2 separate regions of the Homo sapiens genome follow, and region 1 is linked to region 2. The links are contacts of gene promoters, found by promoter capture Hi-C in human tissues and cell types (Jung and others, 2019). All regions are on one chromosome and are shown on one strand. The core of a region is centred on a gene start or on the middle of the fragment in contact, and the rest is flanking DNA. Distances in the headings are between cores, read along the strand shown. Region 1 has its middle 9.0 kb from the start of XCR1. Region 2 holds the start of FYCO1 (FYVE and coiled-coil domain autophagy adaptor 1).

Region 1 (6,374 bases), core at 891-3,390, 40 kb after region 2:
TAAAAACTCATAAAAAATCCAAGGCCATCTAGATTTTCTCCGGTGTTACTTGCTAGAAGTTTTGTACATTTGCATTTTGCATTTAGATTTAAGATGCATTTTGAGTTTTTTGTGAAAGGTGTAAGATCTGTGTATAGATTCCTCTTTTGCATGTAGATGTACAATTGTTCTAGCACCACTTGTTGAAAATATCCTTTATCCATTTAATTACCTATACGTCTTTGACAAAAATCAGTTGACTATATTAGTGCAAGTCTATTTCTGGGCTCTCTGTTATGTTCTGCTAGTATACTTTCACCAGTGTCACACTATCTTGATTACTGTAACTTTATATAAAGTCTTAAAGTTTGGTAATGCTAGGCCCCTGACTTTGTTCTTCTTCAGTTTTTTGTTGGTTATTCTAGGTCTTTTGTCTTTCCAAATAAGCTTTAGAATCAGTTTGTTGATATTCACAAAATAAATTGCTGGGTTTTGATTGGGATTGCATTATAGCTATAGATCAAGTTAAGAATTGCCATCTTGACAATATTGAGTCTTCTTATCCTTAAACATGGAATATTGCTCCATTCATTTAGGTCTTCGTTGATTTCTTTTATAGAGTTTTATAGTTTTCCTTAGATAAATTCTGTATATATTTTATGAAATTGATGCTCAGGCATTTAAAATTTTTTGGTGCTAATGTAAATGGTCTTGTTTTCAATTTCAAATTTCAAGTGTTCATTGCTGTTTTTTTTTTCTTTTTCTTTTAGACAGAGTCTCACTCTGTTGCCAGGCTGGAGTGCAGTGGCGTGATCCTGGCTCACTGCAACCTCTGCCTCCTGGGTTCAAGTGATTCTCCTGTATCAGCCTCTGGAGTAGCTGGGATTACAGGTGCCTGCCCTCATGCCCAGCTAATTTTTTGTATTTTTAGTAGACGGGGTTTCACCACGTTGGTCAGGATGGTCTCGAACTCCTGACATCAGGTGATCCACCCTACTTGGCCTCCCAAAGTGCTGGGATTACAGGTGTGAGCCACTGCACCTGGCCATTGCTGGTATTTAGAAGAGCCAAGTCTTTTGTATATTAGCCTTGCCTTCTGCAGGCTTGCTATATAAATTATAGGAGTTTTTTTGTGCATTCTTTGAGATTTTATACTGTGAGAACCATGTCATCTGCAAAGATATTTTTATCTCTTCTTTCCCAATCTTTATACCTTTTATTTCCTTTTTTTTTTGTTTTATTGCAACAGCTGGATGTTCAGTACAATGTTGAATAGGAATGGTGACAGAGGACATCCTTGACGTGCTCCTATTCTTAGGGGAAACACATCCAGTTTCTTACCCTTAAGAATGTTAGGTTTAGGTTTTCTTTAAAAAATTATATAAATGTATGTGTACAAGTATAGTTTTGTTACGTGCATATATTGCATAATGGTGAAGTCAGGGTTTTTATGATATATACCACCTGAATAATATACATGGTACCCACTAACTAATTTCTCATAATGAAACTGACCCAATAGTCCCATAGAGAGCTTTTTTGATGAAAAAAGCTTCTGGTTTTAAAGCTTAAAACTTGTATTTGTTTTACCTGAGTTTCTTCCTCAGGAAAGACCTTCAGGCCTCTCAAAAAAATTATCAACCACCAGAAACTCACCATATCACCGCATCCAGATAATGAGATGCCAGACCCTTCATTCATCATGATTGCCTCCTTGCCCCTCCATAGTTCCTGTTTTCTTTTTCTTTTGAGACGGAGTCTCACTCTGTCGACAGGCTGGAGTGCAGTGGTGTGATCTCGGCTCACTGCAACCTCTTCCTCCCAGGTTCAAGTGATTCTCCCGCCTCAGCCTCCTGAGTAGCTGGGATTACAGGTGCTCACCACCACAGCCCGCTAATTTTTGTGTTTTTGGTAGAGATGGGGTTTCACCATGTTGGTCAGGCTGGTCTCAAACTCCTGACCTCCTGATCTGCCCACCTAGGCCTCCCAAAGTGTCGGGATTACAGGCGTGAGCCACCATGCCTGGCCCCATAGTTCCTGTTTTCTTACACATTGTTACATTTCTTCTCTGCTATGTAAACATCTCCTTTTAGTCAGTCAGGGAGATGGATTTGAGACTAAGCTCCTATCTCCTCAGTTGCAGCACCTGATTAAAGCCTTCTTCATTGGCAATAATTGTCTCAGTCATTGGTTTTCTGTGCCATGAGCAACGGGACCTAGACGAAACTCCTGGTATTTCAGTAACAGATTTTGGTTCCCTAACCAGCAACGTGTTGCCACAGTTGCTCATTGCTCAGCTGCCATGGGCCAGGAGTCTCAAAAGCCCTCCTAAGCAGCTGCCCACTCAGTTTTGGTTGGAGATAAGTTTCAGTCTGTCTCTGGCCCCACTACAGCTGGTCTCAACTGTGTTCCTGATTGCCTATGAAGAACTGTCTTTGAAATTTGACATCTGCATCCCGATAGGTGAGTGTCCTTTGTGGGCCCAGACAGCAGGAGATGCTCCTCTCAATTTGGGAAATTTTTGAAAGAATTTCCATTTGCAGGTTGAACAAGCCCAACTGACAGTGAGGGAAGCACCCTGTTTCACTACGGACACTCTTGGGGGCTTGTTTGTAATTGTTTGTGTGTGTGTCCAGGCAAGTGAGTGTCTTTTGTGGGTACCAGATAGCAGGATGTGCTCCTCTCAATTTGGGAAATTCCTAAGGAATTTTTGTTTGCAGGTTGATTAAGCCCAACCAGTGGAGAGAGGAAGGACCCCGGCTGTTTCAATTTGGACACTCTTGGGGCTTGTTTATTGCTGCAGTGGTCAGACTGTGTTTTGGTGATTGTGTGTGTATCATGGGAAATTAGAATTACATAAACTGATATTCTTTTGTAATAATGCTTGTCCCCAATATTGTTTGGAATCGGAGTTTGCTGTTGAATGAGAAAGTGGGATGGAGTTTCCTGTATCCAGGCTTTTATGTTGCTGTTCTGAGCAGGTTGGGCCTGGTTAATAGGTTCCAGGTGGTTTTCTGTGGTGCTGTTTGGCCCCAGTGTTCCTTGGAGTCTGAGGAGGTTTGGCCTTTAAAAATCAAACTGCTATGGAAACTGCTTTACCCAAAATTTTGGTTCACACCCTATGTTGGATTACATATGGGGCAAATAAAGTGTAACCACGTAAACCAATGACTTTGTATGTGTGCATATGCATGTCTAGATGTGTTTATGTATGTACATTTATTATGCTATGTCTTTTTGTCTAACAAATTGGCTTGTAAACAAAACAGAACTCATAAATTAAGTAAGCCCAAAGTATTTTTCAAGTTCACATGACTTAAGTAAATCTTTAATAAATGAACTGGCTTTAAAAATATTAATAAAATAAAAATAGGAATGTCTTAAGAATTGTTAACATATATTTTTGTTTGGGCTTTATATTTGTCTCTGCTAGATATTTTGAGGTATCAGGGTTTGGCACAGGTTATAAAATGATAAACCTAGCCAGAACAAAATGATCTTTGTAGGAATTTTTTAATAAGTAAGACTAATTTAATGTTATTGGTTTAATGAAAACAGCTGAATCTTCTGAGTTACTGGTGAAAATGCCCTTGTAGTTAACTTAAAGTTCTTATTTAGGTAAACACCTGATATTCACAGGTTATAAAATGGTTAACAAGGAAATAAATAATGCATAAGTAATCGAGATAAACTGCCAAAAATAAATAAAAAATGTGAGTAAGTGCTATAGGTGAAGTTTTTGTGTAACTTATAATCTTAAAAGTTATTTTCAATGCTTATTGGATGCCTGAGTCATTTCCAATTAAGGAAGGGTTATGATATCGGGAAATATATTTCTAAAAATTATAGAATTGTTCTCATTTATAAAATGCTAATATCTGGTAGGCAGTTGAGGGTTTCTTGCCTCATAGTATTTCACTAAAATTTAGGGTTACTAAGTATAAGAATTATATTAATTCTGTATATAAAAGCTACCCAAAAATGTGTGTTCTTAGTGAGAAAAAGAATAATTTTGTCTAATTCAGGAGTTATCTGAATGTTAATTCAAACTATGGACTTGAAAATGTTATTTATGAAACAAGGTAGAAAGGAACCAGTAAATAGGGGAGAGAGATATGAAGAAAGTTATGAATGTGACAACGTATTTTTGGTGAGAAAGGTTATAAAGAAAAGAGAAAAATATTGTGTGAGAAAGGTTATAAAGAAAAGAGAAAAATATTGTATGAGAAAGATCTTGTATGGTGAATTTTTGTCCTAAAATAAAATGACTAGTTATTTAAAAAAGAAAATAAAATTTAGGACAAAATAAGAAGTCCAAAAGTATCATAGATGGTCTATGTAAGTCATATGTTGCTTTTTCCTGGTTCTCTGTGTTTCTATCTTTATGCACACACAGAGAAAATAGAAAGTTGAAAAAGTTTAGATAGTAAAATATCCCTTAAAACCTGATAGAAAATTGGAAAAATTTGACTGATTAACATTGCTCATAGTTAAAGCTCTTAGTTTTGATGAAGATAAAATAAATATTATAAAGAAATATACTGTCAGTTTGGCAATTCTTTTTTAATACAATTAACTGTGAAGCCAGATTTAGCATGGAGCCAAATTTCACATACATGCTTGCATTGCTTCACAGTATATTTGCTATTTTGCATAGATAGTACTGGTACTAAGGTACTTGTACGGGTCATGTACCTAGATGAATTTCTTAATTTCAAAAAATGTATAGTGCTATCAGTTGACTTGAAGACGTTAATCTGTGCACCAGGAATAAAATATATGTTGTGTGCACGGGTTTGTTTTTTGTTTTTTTTTTTTTTTGAGAGGGAGTCTTGCTCTGTCACCCAGGCTGGAGTGCAATGGTGCAATCTTGGCTCACTGCAAACTCTGCCTCCCAGGTTCAAGCAATTTTTCTGCCTCAGCCTCCCAAGTAGCTGAGATTACAGGCACGTGCCACCATGCCTTGTATTTTTCTGAGAGGTGGGGTTTCACTATGTTGGCCAGGCTTGTCTGGAATTCCTGACCTCAGGTGATCTGCCAGGCTTGGTCTCCCAAAGTGCTGGGATTACAGGCATGAACCACCGTGCCTGGCCGTGTGTGTGTTTTTTTAACCTCTAGGTAACACTTTAGCCTCCAAGGTAAACTGAGTAGGATAAAAATTTGGGGTTGGTTTCCTGTTTATTTTTGCTTCTAATTTTCAATTATTGTTGTTTATTCTCTTTTGGGTTTTACTTATGTATACATCTCTATAAAACTATTGATGTTTTTAGTTTGCAATTGAAGGCTTTTATTTGGTTCTTTGAATAGACATTTTGTTTCCTATGCATTTCTAACGAGTCATCATTTGTTCTGTTTATCCAGAATTCCTAGGCTACCTTTGTCAAGCCTCCAAAAATTAATAAACACCAGCCATTTAACATTTGATTGGTTTTGCTTACCCCTGATGATCTTGAGAACTATGAGAGATTTAAAGATCCTGGCCAAAAAATACAAGACTTATTTTTACAAGTTCTAAGCAGAAATAGTATACTATTTATTTTACTGGAAAAAGTAGGTGAGAATAATTTCCAAGGTAATTCAATTCAATCAACAATTTGAGTTGGTTTTACATCTTTTCCTGTAATGAGGGAAAACTGTGATACGGCTATAAACTTAATGCTAAGGAAAGATTGGCCTTATCCTTAAGTAAATTATATTGATTGGAATTTTTTTCAAATTAATTACAATTAAGTGATATTCACTTTGATTAAGTGGTTAAAAAAAAAAAAGTGAGACTTTCCAGTTATCTTTGACCCAAAGCCATTTATCACTGATGGGTCCTCATGTGTGTACTTGAAAACAACATATGTGCAAGTGTTTCACTGGTTTGAAGATTTTTGTGGTGAAAGTTACCTAATCAGCTGTCAGTACTGTATCTAGAAACCAATCTTGGAAATGTGTGATGATGCTCTTTTAAATAGCTGAAAAGAAATTATTGTGTGCTTTACTTTGTTCTTGTTTTGTTGTACGGTATTTAAGTGAAAGGAGATATTCTCATACTGAATTTGCAAAACTGATACTTGCATTTACCATTTCTTTAATGATGGAAAGTTAATTGTCTTACTTTGATAAGTTTGGCATAGGACCTATCACATTTTTTAATGCTTTTAGCCATAGTTCTGTCACTAGAATGCTAGCAATTAGACATGTGCAATGCGTAACCTAACTACTTTAATCCGGTGGTTTGAAGTACTGCAGGCAGTCACTCCTAGACACCAAATCACAATGTTTTAATTTGTGACATGTTAGAATGATAGGACTTTCTGTAGTATAAATAATCTATTAAGTAATCCTTGTGCTGTTAAGTTACAGGCCTTTGACTCCTGAGTCTGAAAAAGGCACTGACCCCTGCAAAA
Region 2 (6,039 bases), core at 881-3,380:
AATGACCCTTACCTGCTGCCTAGGGCTGCTTGCAGTGAACGTGGTTCCTAAATCTAGGTGCCTACCAGTGATTTCCACCATAAGACCACAGCTAGACAACACACTTCCTCTGCCTCATGTTTAAAGACATTCTAGTCTTGAGTCACCAAAGCTGTGTCTTTGGAATCTTCAGTAAACAAAAGTTACCTATCAGCTAAACATCTCCCCTAAAGGGAAGCAGGGTGGGTGGGGGTGAGGGGGCTGCCATTTCTTGCGTACCTACTTTGTATTCTTGAGTCAGCAGTCCATAGCCTTGGTGACCAATATGGGTCAAAGCTACCAGCTGCTCTGATCTTGCTCTGTTATGGGTGATTCCTCTCATCACAAACATCTATGGGGGCCATCCCCCTCAAAAAGGACCAGGTTAAAAACTTGGCTCCTGAAATTATACTGGTGCTCCAAACCCAGCCCCAAGGGGCAAAGGTCATCGGAACAACAGCTAAAGGATCACTGCCTGAGACTGTTACCAATCTCTAAAGTAACTGCAAAAAAAAAAAAAAATCAAAGTAAAATATTAAGAATTGAGTATACGGATATTCACCATACAATCCTTTCAGTGATTCTGTATGTTTATTTTTCTAATAAAATATTAAAAACAATTTAAAAAGTAAATGAAGTGCTACACAAAGATAGTCACTTTGAACATAAACAGATAAACTCTATTTCCTAAAGCAAGAGCCTTTAGGAGAGATCCTATTAATCAAAGGAGGCTGAGATCCATCACTGTGACAATTAGCTCTTATTTTCAGGGTGATAATAACCACGGTGCACAACTAGTATGGGGCATTCAATGCTTTCAGAACAGTGGTTGTCACAGAAGGGAGGGTCAAGTGGAGCTCACTCAACAGGGGTCCACTTCAGAAGGTGGGAACTACTGAAAGCAGAAAACCTTGGCATGATAGCTCCAGCTCCCCACCCCTCCCCCACACCAGCCCCCAACACCCTCCAGCCGCATTAGGCAGATGGCAGGGGAATTAAGCTTGCAGCCTGAGACCACAAGGCCTGCACGGGCAGGAGAACCAGTGAGCAGATTAAGCCCTGGATCCTCTGCCCCGCAAAAGCCCCTGACCCATTTCTCTGTCGGGAAAGGAAACTGCTGTGGTAAGACAAGCAGAGGGGCTGAGAGGCTCTGGCCAACACAGGCAGTTTCAACAAGTGTTCTATTTTTTTTTCTGGAGAGGACACCCAATGGGAACAGTGAAGAGTGACAGGGACATCAGAGAATACATGTGCTTTAACAGGGGGCCACGCGGTTAACGTGTCAACCACATGTGCTTTTCTTACAAAAAATAAAATCCCGCCATCCTCCCCCCTCCCCGCCCCACCCCCGCCAGGTTTCAACAGCACGGACTCCAGTCCAGTGCAGTGCCGCCACACCAGAGACAACAGGTGTTTCGGGAAAAGACCCCTGGGGGCTAGCTCGAGACCCTGCGCATGGGCACAAGGGGCAGTGGATAGTGAATAGGTCTTGGCCAAAGGATGGGCCAGGAAGAAAGAAGCTTCTTCCCCTCCTGGGAAGAGGGCAGAGATCCGAGCACCAGCGGAGTCTTGCAAAGTGAAGGTCTGGGCTGTCCCGGCCCAACTGGGCCAGAGACTAAACTTCCTAAAGACCACGCAGGCAGGAACTCCGGGGCCTGCCCCATCCTGCGCTAAGACATTCAGGCTTGTTCTGAGACGCCGCATGGTGGGCTCCTTTCCTTTGCGGGCCCTCCGCCCTCCGGGGTCTTGGAACTGGTGTTTGGGGTCTGTCTTTCTAACCGACCAACAGAGGCAGGCTGGGTGCCTGGGCCGGCTTCCACCTGCCCGAGGTGCTTCCCGGCCCGCTGGGCAAGGACGGGGGCGCTCGGGCAGGGTCTGAGGGAGACCTGGGATGGGCGGGGACTGTAAGGGCAACAGGTGACAAGCCGCGCCCCGAGCGAAGCTCTCGCCTCAGGGATCGTGAGCGACCCAGGTGCCCCCAGAGTCCAGCCGGTCTTCCGCGGCACTTACGCGCTCGTGGGTCCACCGCCGGGCAGAACCGAAACTTTCTGGGGCCAAGCGGAAGAGGACGGGAACGCGGTGCTGACGGCCATGACGCGCACACCAAGAGGGTGGCGGGGGCGGACTACAACTCCCGGCGTGCTCCCCGGGGCTGAGGCCTGCAACTCCCATCGGACTCCCGGGGCTCCGACTACAACTCCCGGCGACTCCGCAGGGCGGGGTTTAAGTGCTCCCACCGCCCAGTCCCCGGACCGACTGTCCCACCCGCGACCCATGCTGGCCCCAGGTTAACGCCTGCAACCCCGGAGGGCCACAAATCAAAGGTCTGGCATCTTGACAACAACGCTGTTCTTGTGTGGCTAAGGAGCACTCCAAAGGTAGCTAGTTCGAGTTGAATCGTGCACGTGCTGTAAGTGTGAAATACACCTAGGTACCAAAGAGTCCGAAGAATGTTAACTAGCTCATTAATTTTTAGTGATTGCATGTTAAAATGATAATATTTTGATATATTGGGAAATAGAAAAACATGTATTGGTGGGCCTAATTTCCCATCTTTTAATCCCCCTTATTTCTTAATATCAGGGTCTTACTTAAAATTAGTGCTCAAAAACTACGTGTTTATGAACTACCACCCCTAACTTTGGCCCCATCCTCAGCCCAACTTCTATTTATAAGATGGGTGTTGCAAAGCACTGTGGAACTGAATACGATAGAACAAAATGCATTCAATCAGTGTCCGCTATGGGCACAGTAGAAAAGAGGAACACTACACGGGGACTTTGGCTTCTAACTGACTGCATTCCTTAGCTGTGGCTGGCTATCCTTTACTCTCTGCCCTAGTTCTCATCATTTAAGCCAGAAACAGCTCTCTCCCTTGTAGGACCTAGCTCGTGGTATCCAGTCAGGAACCGTGGTGGCCCAACATTCTAAACTGAGGAAGCAGGGTGTTGTCTGGGTACAATAATACAGAAAGAAAATCAATTTCTTAGTCGATTTTAGGCTATGACATCTCATTAGCCATCTAATTTTATAAATTAGATGTAGCTAAAACAGTGAGTTGGATGGATGGAGTAGTCAGTTTGGGGGTGGGGTTGGGAGGAGGTACATGAATAGAAGTGATTTCCACTCTTGTTAACAGAAAGGAGAACAGAAAGAAAACGGGGGGAGTGAGAAGATGACAAAGAGAAAAGTAATCAATGTAGTGGTCTAAGAGAAATCATTGCTCCAACCACTGTCTGAACAGCTTCATGCAATATTAAGGATGAGAGAGATTTTAATGTTGGTCATCTGGTCCAATATCCTTGTTTGAAACTGTGTGGGGAAAAAAAAACCTCCCTCAAACCGTATTTTTCCTCTACTCTTACACAACAGCAATCATCAACACAGGAGAATAATTTGGTGACCAGATGTGTGTGGGGTTTTCCCCACACACTGAGCAGTGGACCGCACCTGGGTGTCCTCCAATTCAATTCCGACACTATCTACCTGGAGTATCAGATCCCACAAGTGGAGGGCTCAGTCCCCAAGACTGCCTCCTCACCTTTAAACACCAGTTGTAAGTCTAGGCCTCCAGAATTTTGGAATGACTGGCTTCAAGTTGAGTTCCCACGACACCCTCTTTGGGTTCAGCTAATTTGCTAAAGTGGTTCATAGAACTCAGAGAAACACATTTACTGGTCTATTATAAAGGATACTGCAATGGATGCAGATAAAGAGACACGTAGGATGAGGTGTGGAGGAAGGGGCGTGGGGCTTCCATGCCTTCCCTGGATGCACCACTCTTCAGTAACCTCCACGTGTTCAGCTATCCCGAAGCTCCCCGAATCCAGTCCTCTTGGGCTTTTATGGAAGCTTCGTGATGTCAGCATTGCTTCCCCCAGGGTATAGGGGAGGACCCTCTCTTGGGAGGGTCTTAAGACCTATAATCAGAAAGGCGGGGGAAGCGGCTGGGCACGGTGGCTCACGCCTGTAATCCCAGCTCACGCCTTGGGAGGCCGAGGTGGGCGGATCACCTGAGGTCGGGAGTTTGAGACCAGCCTGACCAACATGGAGAAACCCCATCTCTATTAAAAATACAAAATTAGCCGGGCGTGGTGGCACATGCCTATAATCCCAGCTTCTAGGGAGGCTGAGGCAGGAGAATCGCTTGAACCCGGGAGGCGGAGGTTGCGGTGAGCCAAGATCGAGCCATTGCACTCCAGCCTGGGCAACAAGAGCAAAACTCCATCTTAAAGAAAAAAAAAAAGAAAGAAAGGCGGGGGAAGATTAGAGTCCTGCCTTAAAGCAGGTGAAAGGAGGGCAGAAGGCCAGAGAGATTCGGTTTCCTGAAGCCTAACATACCTAACATAACAAAAGACTGTAACAAGGGCTATGGGAGTTATGAGCCAGGAACCATGGAAGAAAACCAAGATAGATAGATAGATAGATAGATAGATAGATAGATAGATAGATAGATAGACAGACAGATAGACAGACATCATAATACCACAGAAACTTAAACCCAAAAGGAGTTTGAAAAGAAAAGGAAAACAAACCTAATATTTATTGAGGACCTATATGCCAGTCCCTAGCCCCCCAGCAAAAAAACAAAAAACAACAACAAAAACCCATTCAGCATTATATTTAAAACTTGCAGCCACTTGGTGACATAATTAGTATTCATTATCATACTTTGAAGATGAGGAGATGAAGCTCAGAGAGGTTAAATGACTGTCCTGGTCCACCCACCTAATAAGTGGTGGAGAGTGGTGGAGGCTGGGGTAGAGCTGGGGGCTCCTGAGGGGTCTTCTGTCACCCAGCACACTGTCAGATACAGGGAAGGTTAACAAAATCACTACTGTTCAGGTAGTTTAACTTGGATTTCCTTTATAGATACAGCAGAGTATTTCAAACTATAATCTTTCAAACAAACATACAAACAAACGCAGCATATTCTTGTGTTCTGATGTGAATACACATTAAGAGATCAGATTCAAAATCACCAAATCCCCACACCCTCTCCTTACAGCCTTAACAAGTGGCAGAAGAGGAGACTATTCCTCACGGGAAGCTGACCGTGCCCACGGCCCTGAGGAGGGATGAGGCTCTTGGAATGATTGTTAAGGGCTTTTTATGTGCCAGGTGCCATGTTATGTGTATTCCACACCTGGTTTAGTTTTATCCTTATATCAGTCTCATGATACATAATTATCCACATTAAGCAGATAAGCAAACAGCCTTAGAGAAGTTAGCTAATTTGCCTAAAGCCCAAACCTTATAGTGGCAGAGACAAATTTTGAGCTCAGGTCTGTCCAATTAGAGTTTAAGCCTTTAACCACTGTGATGGCAGCTCCTTCCATGGGGCAGCCATGTGCTCTGCCAAGGACCCTACCATTGTGGCCCCTGCTGGTCAGGCCAGAAGTGGATGCCAGCCATGCCAATGGCATGGGGTGGCAGCTCAAAAGAGTCAGCCTCCTCTTGATAGTCACTGGTCAATTAATCTCTCTGCTGGAAAATTCGAGTGTAAGACCCACGGAAGGAATCAGAAGTTGACTGCAGAATCAACAGCTCTAAGCTGGTTGAGCTATCTTCCCCTACAGAACACAGCTTTTCAGTAATGATTCATAGACAATGCAGAAGGATGTGGACCTCAGGGCTCCGGAATTTGGTTTGAATTCTGACATGTATATTTTCCAGAATTTTTTCTCCATAACTCTACTATTGACTTTTCTCCTCAACCCTTCATCAACTGAAAACTTTTGAAATTTTAAAATAAGCTCTTGATAATACAGATTTAGACTTTTTCCATTTTAAGTGATAATAATAGAAAATAGCATTTCCCACAGAATAAGGGGACTATACTTCCTGGTTCAGCCAAGAGAGCCCTGTTATCCCAGCATGAATATTCACAGCACCTCTGTTCACTCCCAGTGGTGTCCCATTTTCTCAATACATTATAGTTACTGTTCGGGAAAAACTCTCAAACCGGTTTTCCTCTGTTCTCACACCACAACAATCAACACAGAAGACTTCTGCATTTCC

Evidence for each region. The method cuts DNA at HindIII sites, captures the fragments that hold promoters and counts their contacts. A contact is called where the count stands out against the background at its distance.
Region 1: a contact is called between a fragment that was not itself captured here and the fragment with the promoter of FYCO1 in region 2, in 1 of the 25 tissues and cell types used here (H1 embryonic stem cells).

Annotation. Positions count from the first base shown.
Region 1 is chr3:46,033,246-46,039,619 of GRCh38, forward strand. It overlaps a transcript of XCR1 not described here. Among named protein-coding and RNA genes, the nearest start is that of XCR1, 9.0 kb to the left of the region's middle. The HindIII fragment of the contact is 5,711 bases long and covers 1-4,996 here.
Region 2 is chr3:45,993,694-45,999,732 of GRCh38, forward strand. FYCO1 (FYVE and coiled-coil domain autophagy adaptor 1) reads right to left here and starts at 2,131. Exons shown (of 18, transcript NM_024513.4): 1 at 2,029-2,131. It overlaps LOC105377063 (a long non-coding RNA gene), which reads left to right and starts at 2,210. Exons shown (of 3, transcript XR_940799.3): 1 at 2,210-2,396. RefSeq lists enhancers at 1,930-2,429, 1,930-1,979, 2,000-2,159. The HindIII fragment of the contact is 4,281 bases long and covers 1,279-5,559 here.